Regions from separate parts of the Homo sapiens genome. Here regions 1 and 3 are each linked to region 2. The links are contacts of gene promoters, found by promoter capture Hi-C in blood cells and fetal thymus (Javierre and others, 2016). All regions are on one chromosome and are shown on one strand. The core of a region is centred on a gene start or on the middle of the fragment in contact, and the rest is flanking DNA. Distances in the headings are between cores, read along the strand shown. Region 1 has its middle 33 kb from the start of HIF3A. Region 2 holds the start of NOVA2 (NOVA alternative splicing regulator 2). Region 3 overlaps LOC124904728 (a long non-coding RNA gene).

What was found. The method cuts DNA at HindIII sites, captures the fragments that hold promoters and counts their contacts. A CHiCAGO score of 5 or more calls a contact.
Region 1: a contact is called between a fragment that was not itself captured here and the fragment with the promoter of NOVA2 in region 2, in 2 of 17 cell types (M1 macrophages and M2 macrophages). The highest score is 6.3, in M1 macrophages.
Region 3: a fragment that was not itself captured here is called in contact with the fragment with the promoter of NOVA2 in region 2 in 2 of 17 cell types (M1 macrophages and M2 macrophages); the score reaches 6.1 in M1 macrophages.

Annotation. Positions count from the first base shown.
Region 1 is chr19:46,262,161-46,265,998 of GRCh38, forward strand. No RefSeq gene overlaps it. Among named protein-coding and RNA genes, the nearest start is that of HIF3A, 33 kb to the right of the region's middle. RefSeq lists enhancers at 318-1,517, 3,152-3,446. The HindIII fragment of the contact is 8,186 bases long and covers 1-3,838 here.
Region 2 is chr19:45,972,305-45,975,774 of GRCh38, forward strand. NOVA2 (NOVA alternative splicing regulator 2) reads right to left here and starts at 1,561. Exons shown (of 4, transcript NM_002516.4): 1 at 963-1,561. The coding sequence starts at 1,047. RefSeq lists a silencer at 1,727-1,886. The HindIII fragment of the contact is 31,968 bases long and covers 1-3,470 here.
Region 3 is chr19:46,244,222-46,247,658 of GRCh38, forward strand. The region is part of intron 1 of LOC124904728 (a long non-coding RNA gene); the gene reads right to left. Among named protein-coding and RNA genes, the nearest start is that of IGFL1, 16 kb to the left of the region's middle. The HindIII fragment of the contact is 232 bases long and covers 1,824-2,055 here.

The DNA.
Region 1 (3,838 bases), core at 538-3,037, 290 kb after region 2:
CCCTGGGGGTGGAAGTGGAGTAGACGGCACTCCTATCTGGGCAACCGAGTAAGACCCTGTCTCTGAAGAAGTACATACATTTACTTAGACTCCTCTGTCTTTGTCATATATATACATATATGACATATATGAGATATACATATTATATATATGATATATATATGATATACATATATAAAATGTCATATATATGTGTCATATATATATGACATTTTATATATAGGAGCTCAAGACCAGCCTGGGCAACGTGGCAAAACTCCACCTCTACCAAAACATACAAAAATGAACTGGGCACAGTCGCACACACCTGTAGTCCCAACTACTCAGGAGGCTGAGGTAAGAGGATGACTTGAACCCGGGAGGCAGAGTCGAGCTGAGATCGCGCCACTACCTGCCAGCTTGGGTGACAGAGCCAGACTGTGTCTAAAAACAAACAAACACCAGAAGGCAGTGATTTTTGCCCCAAAGTGATTTAACTCTCCCTAGTCATTATACAGAACAAGAAAAATAAGAACATGAATTAGTCTGGGCGCAGTGGCTCACACCTGTAATCCCAACACTTTGGGAGGCCGAGGCGGGTGGATCACTTGAGGTCAGGAGTTCAAGACCAGCCTGGCCAACATGGTGAAACCCCGTCTCCACTAAAAATACAAAAATTAGCCAGGTGTGATCCCAGCTACTCGAGATCTGGGTAGCTACTGAGGCAGGAGAATTGCTTGAATCCGGGATGTGGAGGTTACTGTGAGCTGAGAACACACCACTGCACTCCAGCCTGGGTGACAGAACGAGACTCCATCTCAAAAGCAAACAACAACAACAAAAGAAAAAGAAGAAGAAAGTGAGTTGACCTGTAATGTGAGAAACGGAAGTTGTAATCATATGTGACTCAGATCACAGTCATATCACTTAAAGTGCTGTTATGGTTCAAGTGGCTTTTAAATAATATTGATTTTCACAGTGGTCAGACCACATCCCTACCCTGGTTAACCCCACTTCATGAAGCAGAGCGTTTGGAGGGGGAGGATGGGAGGAGGAGAGCAGGAACCCAAAACCCTCACGTGGCTGCTCTGCTCAACAAACTGGAAACACCGTCAACTTATTTTGATACAAATCCCTATGACCCATTTTTATTCAAGAATTCTGTCACCTTTGGCTGTTTTTCTGAGGTTTCTCCATAGCACCTTATCCTAAAATTTTCTCTTTTTTTTAATTTTAATTTTAAATTTTTTTTTTTTTGAGACAGAGTGTCACTGTCGTCCAGGCTGGAGTGCAGTGGCGTGATCTCAGCTCACTGTAACCCCTTCCTCCCAGGATCCTCGTGCCTTGGCCTCCCGAGTACCTGGGTTTACAAGTGTGCACCACCACACCCAGCTAATTTTTGTATTTTTAGTAGAGGCGGGGTTTCACCATGTTGGCCAGGCTGGTCTTGAGCTCCTGACCTCAAGTGATCCAAACCCCCTCAGCCTCTCAAAGTGATTACAGGTGTGAGCCACCATGCCCGGCCCTGCTCCTGGAATTTTCTTACAGAATCAGAGCAGACACCATTCCTAGAGGTAGGAAACTATCTCTGCAATTGGCTGTTCTGGAAGCCAGAAACAAAGGACCGGCCAGGAACCCATCTCCCCTGACAATTGTGGAGGAGCAAGTTGAGGACTTTCAGGATCCACAATGCCAGGCAGGAGGGAGCAGCTCTGCCACACAGGGCTGGAGACCCCATCCTCGATGCTCAGCTGTCACTGCCTCGTGCTATTAAGTTGCCACATCCTTGATGGTTTAATGCCCAACTCCAGGGCTGCTTGCTCTGCCTGCATTGGTTGATTCTTCTGGAAAAATAAAACTCTATAATATTTTGATCCAGGGAGCCCAAGGACCATCTTCCCAGCTCTCTCGAATTACGACACAATCCTCGTCCTAACTCCACTAGATTGCCCTGGTTAATGGGGTAATTCTGTGAGAAAACACAGGCGCATCAATATTGCAGTGTCCCTTACAGAAGCGCTGAGAGTAACACTATTGCTTTAGTTGGGGTCCTCATAGAACAGGTGATACCTCATAGAATTTTCTAGTGCTTTCCAATACCTCAATTGATATCATTCAGATTCGGCCGGGCGCAGTGGCTCACGTCTGTAATCCTAGCACTTTGGGAGGCCAAGGTGGGTGGATCACCTGAGGTCAGGAGTTCGAGACCAGCCCAGCCAATGCAGTGAAACCCCATCTCTACTAAAAACACGAAATTTAGCCAGGCGTGGTGGTGTACACCTGTAATCCCAGCTACTTGGGAGGCTGAGGCAGGAGAATTGCTTGAACCCAGGAGGTGGAGTTTGCAGTGAGCCGTGATGGCACCACTGCACTCCAGCCTGGGCGACAGAGACAGAGTGAGACTCCATCTCAACATATATGTATACACACACACATATATATCTCAGATCCTCTAGTGCAAAGTCACATATCTGTATGGGAGCTCCAATAAATTGGAATGCAGAGGTTAAAGGTTAATCAGTTAGCTACACCTACTAGGAACTTTCTCTGTTATAAGGGGTGGTGCCCACCAGGGACTGGTCCCATGGCCAGTTCCCACATATAATCTAACCCTGTATGGGATTTTAGAAGGTGGGAAACAAAGCCTGGCACGGTGACTCACGCCTGTAATCCCAGCACTTTGGGAGGCCCATTCGGGCAGTTCACTTGAGGTCAAGAGTTTGAGGCCAGCCTGGCCAACATGGTGAAACCTGGTCTCTACTAAAAAAAAATACAAAAATTAGCTGGACATGGTGGCCGGTGCCTGTAATCCCAGCTACTCAGGAGCCTGAGGCAGGAGAATCTCTTGAACCGGAGGGACAGAGGTTGCAGTGAGCTGAGATTGCATCACTGCACTCCAGCCTGGAGGCCAAGGCAGGAGGATCACTTGAGGCCAGGAGTTTGAAACCGGCCTAGCCAACATAGCAAGTCCCCATCTCAAAACAAAAAGCAAAACACAATATTTTGACCCAGGCAGTGTGAAGGGGGCAGGTGGCATCTTTTTGAAGATGCCAGAAAATTTGGGACCTCCAAACTTGGACAATGTTAGCAGCTGTCTGAGGCCACAAAATTAGGCAAACCACACTGGAGAAAGAAAATCCTTCGGAAACCTGTTCATTTAGGCAACTGTATGAGTTTCAGCTGAATTTTCTAAATGCCTCTAAATTACATCCTCAGCCTGGAGGGACATCAGAGCTGATTTGACTCACTTGTGGGGCCTGCTTCTGAGTTATTAACGTGGTTATGGCTCCCCCATGTGGTGGAGGGGGGCATATTCATTTTTTAAGTTCCTATTTCAGCCCAGCAGGGTGGCTCACACCTGTAATCCCAGACCTTTGGAAGACCCAGCGATCGCTCGAGCCCAGGAGTTTGAGACCAGCCTGGGCAACATGGTGAAAGCCCGTCTCTATTTAAAACAAAACAAAACAATGAAGTTCTTCCTATTTCTCTCCCTGTCCTTGACACGAGGGGATTCCAACTACTTTTTCTGCTAATCGTCCTTGTACATGAGCATATATACTGACAGGATTTTTACCTGTCCCAAATAATATGCCTTTGGTCCCATCCCCAGACAGGCAGGGAATGAACAGGCCATCTGTGACTCTCGGTCTTGCTCTGTCGCCCAGGCTGGAGTGCAGTGGTGTGATCTCAGCTCACTGCAGCCTCAATCTTCTGGGCTCAAATGATCCTCTTGCCTCACCCCCCCAAGTAGCTAGAACTATAGGCCCGCACCCCCGCGCCTGCCTAATTTTTTTCTTTTCTTTTCTTTTTCATAGAGATGGGGGTCTCACTATGTTGTGCAAGCTAGTCTCCAACTCCA
Region 2 (3,470 bases), core at 311-2,810:
CACAGCCTCTCTGGAGTCACACCCACACCCTTTTCTTGTCACATCCCCTCACCAGCCACGCCTGTGTCACACACACTGGACCCCTTTCCTCTGATCTACACGGCCTCTTCTGGCTGACACCCAGAGCCAGCCCATTCGGTGTCCCCCACACACCTCCTTGCATGTCACACACACCCTCTCATGTGTCACACTCTGCCACAGCCCCCTTGGGGGTGACAAGCACACACCTTTCCTTGTCACACGTACCCGCTGGAGGGTCTCAAACATGGAGCCCAGCCCCTGTCCCCTGTCTTTCTCATACACCCCCCTATGCTGTCATATTCCTGATCCCTAATGTCACACATCCAGGCTGTAGAGGGCACACATACACACACACGCACACACATACACACCTGTCCTAGCCTCACATTCTCCCACCTAGCTTTACACACCCACCATTTCCTCCATTTCACCCCACACACCTACCCAGCCTGTCCCCACGCACGATCCGGCCAGGGCCACACAAGCCTCCATCTGGGACAACCCTTGTTCAGGACATCCCCAGGGAGGGAGGCTGGGAAGCTCCCGGTCCACAGGCCTCTACTCCTTCCCCTCCCCCAGCCAGGACACGCGAGCTCGGGGAACACCCCTGCTCCGAAAGGGTCACATCACACACCCCTCAAGGACACACAGACACCTGCCCTGAGGCTCCCACGCCCCCCATCTTCTGCGCCCCCCAAGGACACTTATCACCCCCTCCCCCCCACCCCTCTCCTCGCAGACAAAGCTCCCAGCCCCGGGCCTCAGCGAGAGGAGGAGGGGGTCCAGCCCCCTCCTCAACTCCCCGCTCTGTCCCCCGCCTCGGGGAGGGGTGTCTCTCCCCTCCCCAGAGCCCTTGCACCTGCCACGGGAGGGGGGGAAAGGATGGAGAAAGGCGAGGCCCCCTGCCCGCTCCCCCGCCCCGAGCCGCAGCCCTTTCTCACCTCCCGTGTTGCTGCGCTTGGTGCAGACCACCTCGGGGGGCGTTTCGAGGGGCCTCTTGCGGGAATCCGGGGCCTCGGGCTCCATGGGGGGGGCCTGGGGCGGCGGCTGCTGCTGCTGCGGCGGCTGCGGCGGCGGCGGCGGCGGCTGCTGTGGCGGCGGCGACGGCTGCTGGGGAGGCTGGGGTTGCGGCGGCGGCGGCGGCGGGGGCGGCGGCGGCTGCGGGGCCGCGGAGGCCGTGAAGAGGCCGTGCACCGCGCCGGCGGCCATCATCCTCATGGTGGGGGGGGGCGGGGGGCGGGGGGCGGGGGAGGGGGAGGGGAGGGGAGGTGGGAGGGGGAGGGGGCGGTGGAGGGATGGGGGAGGGGGAGCCCCGGAGAGGGAAGGCGGGGGTAGGGGGGAGCCGGTTCTCGGGGGGCTGACAGAGCCTGGAGAGCGGCCGTGAGCAGGATGGCAGGGCCGAGGGGGGTCTCCGATAGGGCCGGGAAAGAACTGAGAGGTGGGGTCTCTCCTGGGACCACAGAGGCTGGGGACTGGACGCGCCACTGGGGGGACGGGACTCCCCGCTTCTTCTTGGCTCCCTGGGGCAAGAGGGCCGAGCCCCCCAGACCCTGCTCGGGGTGGGGGGCCGGAGGAGCGTGGCCGGAGTGGGAGGCGGAGGCGGCCGCTAGTGGGGGCCCGGGGGGCGGCGGGCGCGGGCGGCGGCGGCGACGGGGCTGGCGGTGGCTGCTGGCCCGAGCATCTTCTTCCCGGAGGCTCCCACAGCGCCTGGCCCCTCCCACCCAACGAGGTCACGCCCATGCCGGGTAGGGCCACGCCCTTCGGCGCCCCCATTGGTCCAGCCTTGAAGCCTGGACCACGTCCCTCTGGGTTGGCCACGCCCCTCCCGGCGGCAGAGAGCTGGACCCGACTCCCCCAGGCTGCTGGGAGGACCCCGGGCTCCTCCAAGCCGTCCCCACTCCTCACCTTGAATGAACGTTTATTGAGCACTTACTGTGTGCCAGGTCCGGTTCCAAGCAAGCACGTCACAGACGTTATCGCATTTACTCCCCAGAGCGACCAGCTCTGTGAGTTACGCTTATTATCCCTATTTTACAGATGAGGAAACAGCCTTAGGAGCTTACTTTGACTTCACTTGGTCAAGACAAGAAATTTCGACTAGGCGCGGTGGTTCATGCCTGTCATCCCAGCACTTTGGGAGGCCGAGGCGGAAGAATCACTTGAGCCCAGGAGTTTGAGACGAGCTGGGCAACAATATTGTGAGACCCCATCTCTACAAAAAAAAAATTTTTTTTTTAATTAGCCAGGCGTGGTAGCACATGCTTGTAGCCCCAGGTACTCTGGAGTCTGAGGTGGGAGGATCTCTTGAGCACAGGAGTTTGAGGCTGCAGTCAGCCATGATCAAGCAACTAGATTCGAGCCTGGGAGACAGAGCAAAACCTTGTCTCAAAAAAAAAAAAAAAAAAGAAAGAAAGAAAGAGAAAGAAATTTCACTTCACTCTTTTTCAATCCTTTCAGCTGGGAAATTCCCCTTCAAATCTTTCATCCATCCTTTGAAGAATCAACACCGTGATGCTGAAAGGGCTCAGAGGATTGAATTCACTGAGCTGGAGTTGCAGCCTGCAGCACCTGCCCTGGGGCACAACTGGCTCTCCATTCAAACAACAGCACTCAGGGCCTACCTACTAAGTGCCAGGCACTGTCCCTGATGCTGCGATACAATAGAGAACAAAACAGCCTTGGCCCTTGTACAGTATTACTACTCATGTCATTAAGAAAAATTTGTTTTCAGATGACAAAGTGGAGGCCTGGGAACATTGAGGGTGGCTTCTTCAAGGGCACACAGCTTGAGAGAGAGAAACTGGGATGAGAACGCAGGACAAGTCCAATTTCAGAGCCCAAAGTCATTGGAACTAGGGTGCCTTTCTTTGGAATGGATCATTGCTATTATTCTGTGTTCCTTGATGCAAGAATTTCCTTCTCCCTGGGTTCTTAACCTCCAAGGAATCTTTCCTTCCTGGGTTGGTCAGAGGCAAGATTAGGCTCAGAAGGGGTCTGGATGCAGGTAATTGTGGCCACTGCGTGATCTGCGGCAGGGGGATCGGCTCCAACCCCCCCCTGCTCCTCCCTTGCCATGCTCTCAGGTCCCCAGGATGGGGGAGGGTAGCAGATGGCCTGGGGTGGATGGGGTGGCTACCCATCTGTCCCCTCCCCCCCATTGTCCCCAGAGCCAAGGGGGATGGGAGGGGGCTGTGGTCCACTGCAGTCTGGATCCTCCCCCTCCATCTTCCTGGAGGGAGCTGAGGAGCTGGTTGCCATGGAGATGGGGAAGAGGCAAGACGGATATAGGGAGATACGGGGGTCAGGCTGAGTACCACACCTTAGACCCTTTGAGTCAAATAGCCTCACACCACACAGGTACATATCCCAACATCCATGAAATTAGCTGTGAAGTTTCCCCCTCTGTGTGACACACACAGAGTCACACTGGCCCTGCTGCAGGTGCACGG
Region 3 (3,437 bases), core at 690-3,189, 270 kb after region 2:
GTAATAAAGATGTCAATGTTCCCCAAATTGATCTATATATTCAAGGCAAACTCAACAAATATTACAGCAAGATTTTGTATAAGTTAACAAACTGATTCTAAAATTTATCAGAAAATGATGGCCAGGTGTGGTGGCTCACACATGTAATCCTAGCACTTTGGGAGGCCATGGCAGGAGGATCACTTGAGCCCAGGAGTTCAAGACTAGCCTGGGCAACACAGTGACACCCTGACTCTACTTGCACAAATTTAAAAAAAAAGGATCAGAAAATGAAAATGACAGAAAATGAAAATGACAATACAATATTGAAGAAACTAAACAAAGTTATAGGACTTACACTAACAGATCAGGAATTTTTATGAAATTATAATAATTTAGGGTGTGGTATTGTATAAGGTAAACAAATTTATCAATGGAAAAAAACAGAGTTCAGACACAGATCCACACATAGACAATCAGTGATTTGTGACAAATGTACCACTACAACTCACCAGGCAGACATTAGTCCTTTTAATAGATATCTATATGGGGGGAATGTATCTTGACCCTTATGTCACACCAAATGTGAAAATTAATTTGAAATGGATCATAGACTTAAAAGCAAAAGATTTCAAACTATAAAGCAGGATTTCCAAAAGCCAGTGTGAAGAGCATGGGCGCCCTCCTCCCAGCAAAACAACCATTTAACTGGTGAAAAAAAATTTTTAATAAAAACAACTAATTAAGTCTCTGGAAATTGTCCTTAGGGCATATCGCAAACGAAGAAATGTTTATTCAAGAAATTCTGTTAGCCAGGTGCGGTGGCTCACACCTGTAATCCCAACACTTTGGGAGGCTGAGGAGAGCAGATCACCTGAGGTCGGGAGTTCGAGACCAGCCTGACCAACATGGAGAAACCCCGTTTCTACTAAAAATACAAAATTAGCCGGGTGTGGTGGCGCATGCCTGTAATCCCAGCTACTTCGGAGGCTGAGGCAGGAGAATCCCTTGAACCTTGGAGGCAGAGGTTGCAGTGAGCCAAGATCACGCCACAGCACTCCAGCCTGATGACAGAGCAAGACTCTGTCTCAAAAAAAAAAAAAAAAAAAAAGAAAGAAAGAAAAAGAAAAAGACATTATACTCAATCTGTAAACAGCAGCAAGAGTCTGAGGGCATTTAAGCCACACATTACTCCTATTCCCCACATCCCCAGCCAACTCTGTAATTGAAGCTCTATTATGGTCAGTCACAGTCAAGAAAATGGGACTCCACCTCTCCCCAGCTCCCAGCCTAGGGCTACAGTTTCAGTTCAGAAAGGGCAGTGCACCAGCATCTTTTATCCTGCTGTCTCCATGTTGCGGATGTGCTATATTAGTTAGAAATTGTGGCTTGCAGCACCGGGGCTCCTTCTCCCATCCAGCCCCTCCTCCTAGCGTGGAAGTTCCACGCCAGGTTTAGCAGGTCAAGCACACTGGGCTTCACTGATCCTGCCTGAGTTCACTCATGGGGCAGAGGTTCCACACAAGAAAGGGCAAACCGAGAAGACGAACAGCTACCACCCCCTCCCAGTGTTCTAGCTGTAGAGGAAAGACATCACCGCAGGAGAAGCTAGCTGCTGTCCCTGACACCAGCTCCAGTCCAGCGGCTCAGTGGTTCTGCCCGGGGGAGAGGGAGGCCATCAGAACAGAGAGCTCCACAAGTATCCCTAAAACTGGCTTTACTTGAAATAAGAGTGTGGAGAAGTTGATGCTTAATGACATTGAAAAAATAAAAAAGGAAATTTTGGTGCTGAAAAACCAAAAAAGGGCTTGCAGTAGCAACAACAAACAAAAAGACAAGGCAGAAGCTTAACAGAGATAATCAGAAAAAGAGATAACTAAGAAGGGCCCTCCTGGAGTGAGAGACAGCCTCAAACCCTGGCAACACTCTGACTTGGCAAAGAAGCTAGACTTTAATCAGCCCACAAAATGATTTATGCATTGTGCTATAGGCCTATTAAAAAGAATAGAGCAATCAATTAACAATAAGAGGAGTCTAACAGATGCAAGTGATACCAACAGAGGCAGACAAGCCAGAAGCTTAACAGAAACATCAAGGAAAGGACAGTCAAAAAGAGGCCAGCTTATGCCATAACTATCTGGAGTAGTTAGAGAGACAGTGCGTATGCTTAGGGCTGCACCCTCTGGAGAGCACTAAGAAAGGTATAATTGTTCATATGTAATTATGTAATTATTACTTGTATGCATGTTATATAATTATTGCTTATATGTAATTGTGTAATTACTTATAAAAACAGCATAATCGCTTATTTCTTACCCTTTCTCCCCTTAACTGGTTTTAAAAGTCATGGCATGAAACAATATGTATGTAATTGTATTGCTGGGAAAAATAAAGAATCTGATTTTTAAATGGGCAAGAGGTCTGAATAGCCATGTATTAAAGGAAGACATACAAATAGTCAACGGATATATGAAAAAATGTTCAACAACACTTATCATCAGGGAAATGCAAATCAAAACCACACTGAGATGTCCCACTTCGGTTAAAATGGCTTTTATCAAAAAGACAAAGAATAACAGATGCTGGCAAGGATGCAGAGAAAGGGGAATGCTCATATACTGGAAATGCCCCTCCAGACCCAGACAGTAAAATTTACAAAACATTTAGAGAAGAATTAATACCAATCATTCACAAACTTTTCAAAAAAGTCAAACAGAACTTTCCAATTTACTCTGAGGTCTGTATTACCCTAACACCAAAATCAAAGATATCACAAGAAATTAAAAAGAAAAAACTACAGACCAACATCTCTTATGAATATAAATTCAAAAATCCTCAACAAAATATAGCAAACCAAATCCAGCAGCATATATAAAGAATGATATATCAGCCGGGCACAGTGGCTCACACCTGTAATCCCAGCACTTTGGGAGGCCAAGGTGGGTGGATCACGGGGTCGGGAGATCGAGACCATCCTGGCTAACATGGTGAAACCTCGTCTCTACTAAAAATACAAAAAATTAGCCCGGCATGGTGGCACGCTCCTGTAGTCCCAGCTACTTGGGAGGCTGAGGCAGGAGAATTGCTTGAACCCGGGAGGTGGAGATTGCAGTGAGCCAAGATCGTACCACTGCACTCCAGTCTGGGTGACAGAGCGAGACTCCGAAAAAAAAAAAAAAAAAAAAACAATGATACATCATGACCAAGTGGGATTTATCCCGGGGATGCAGTTGGTTCAACATAAGAAAATCAATCAATATAATATACCATATTACTAGACTATAGAGGAAGTCACGTAATTCTCTCAAATGATATTGAAAGAGCATTTGACAAAATCTACACTCTTTCATGATAAAGTACAAAGAACAAACTAGGAACAGAAGAGAGCTTCCTCAACCTGTTAAAGAGCATCTACAATAAACTCATAGCTAACATCATACTTAATTGTGAAAGATTGA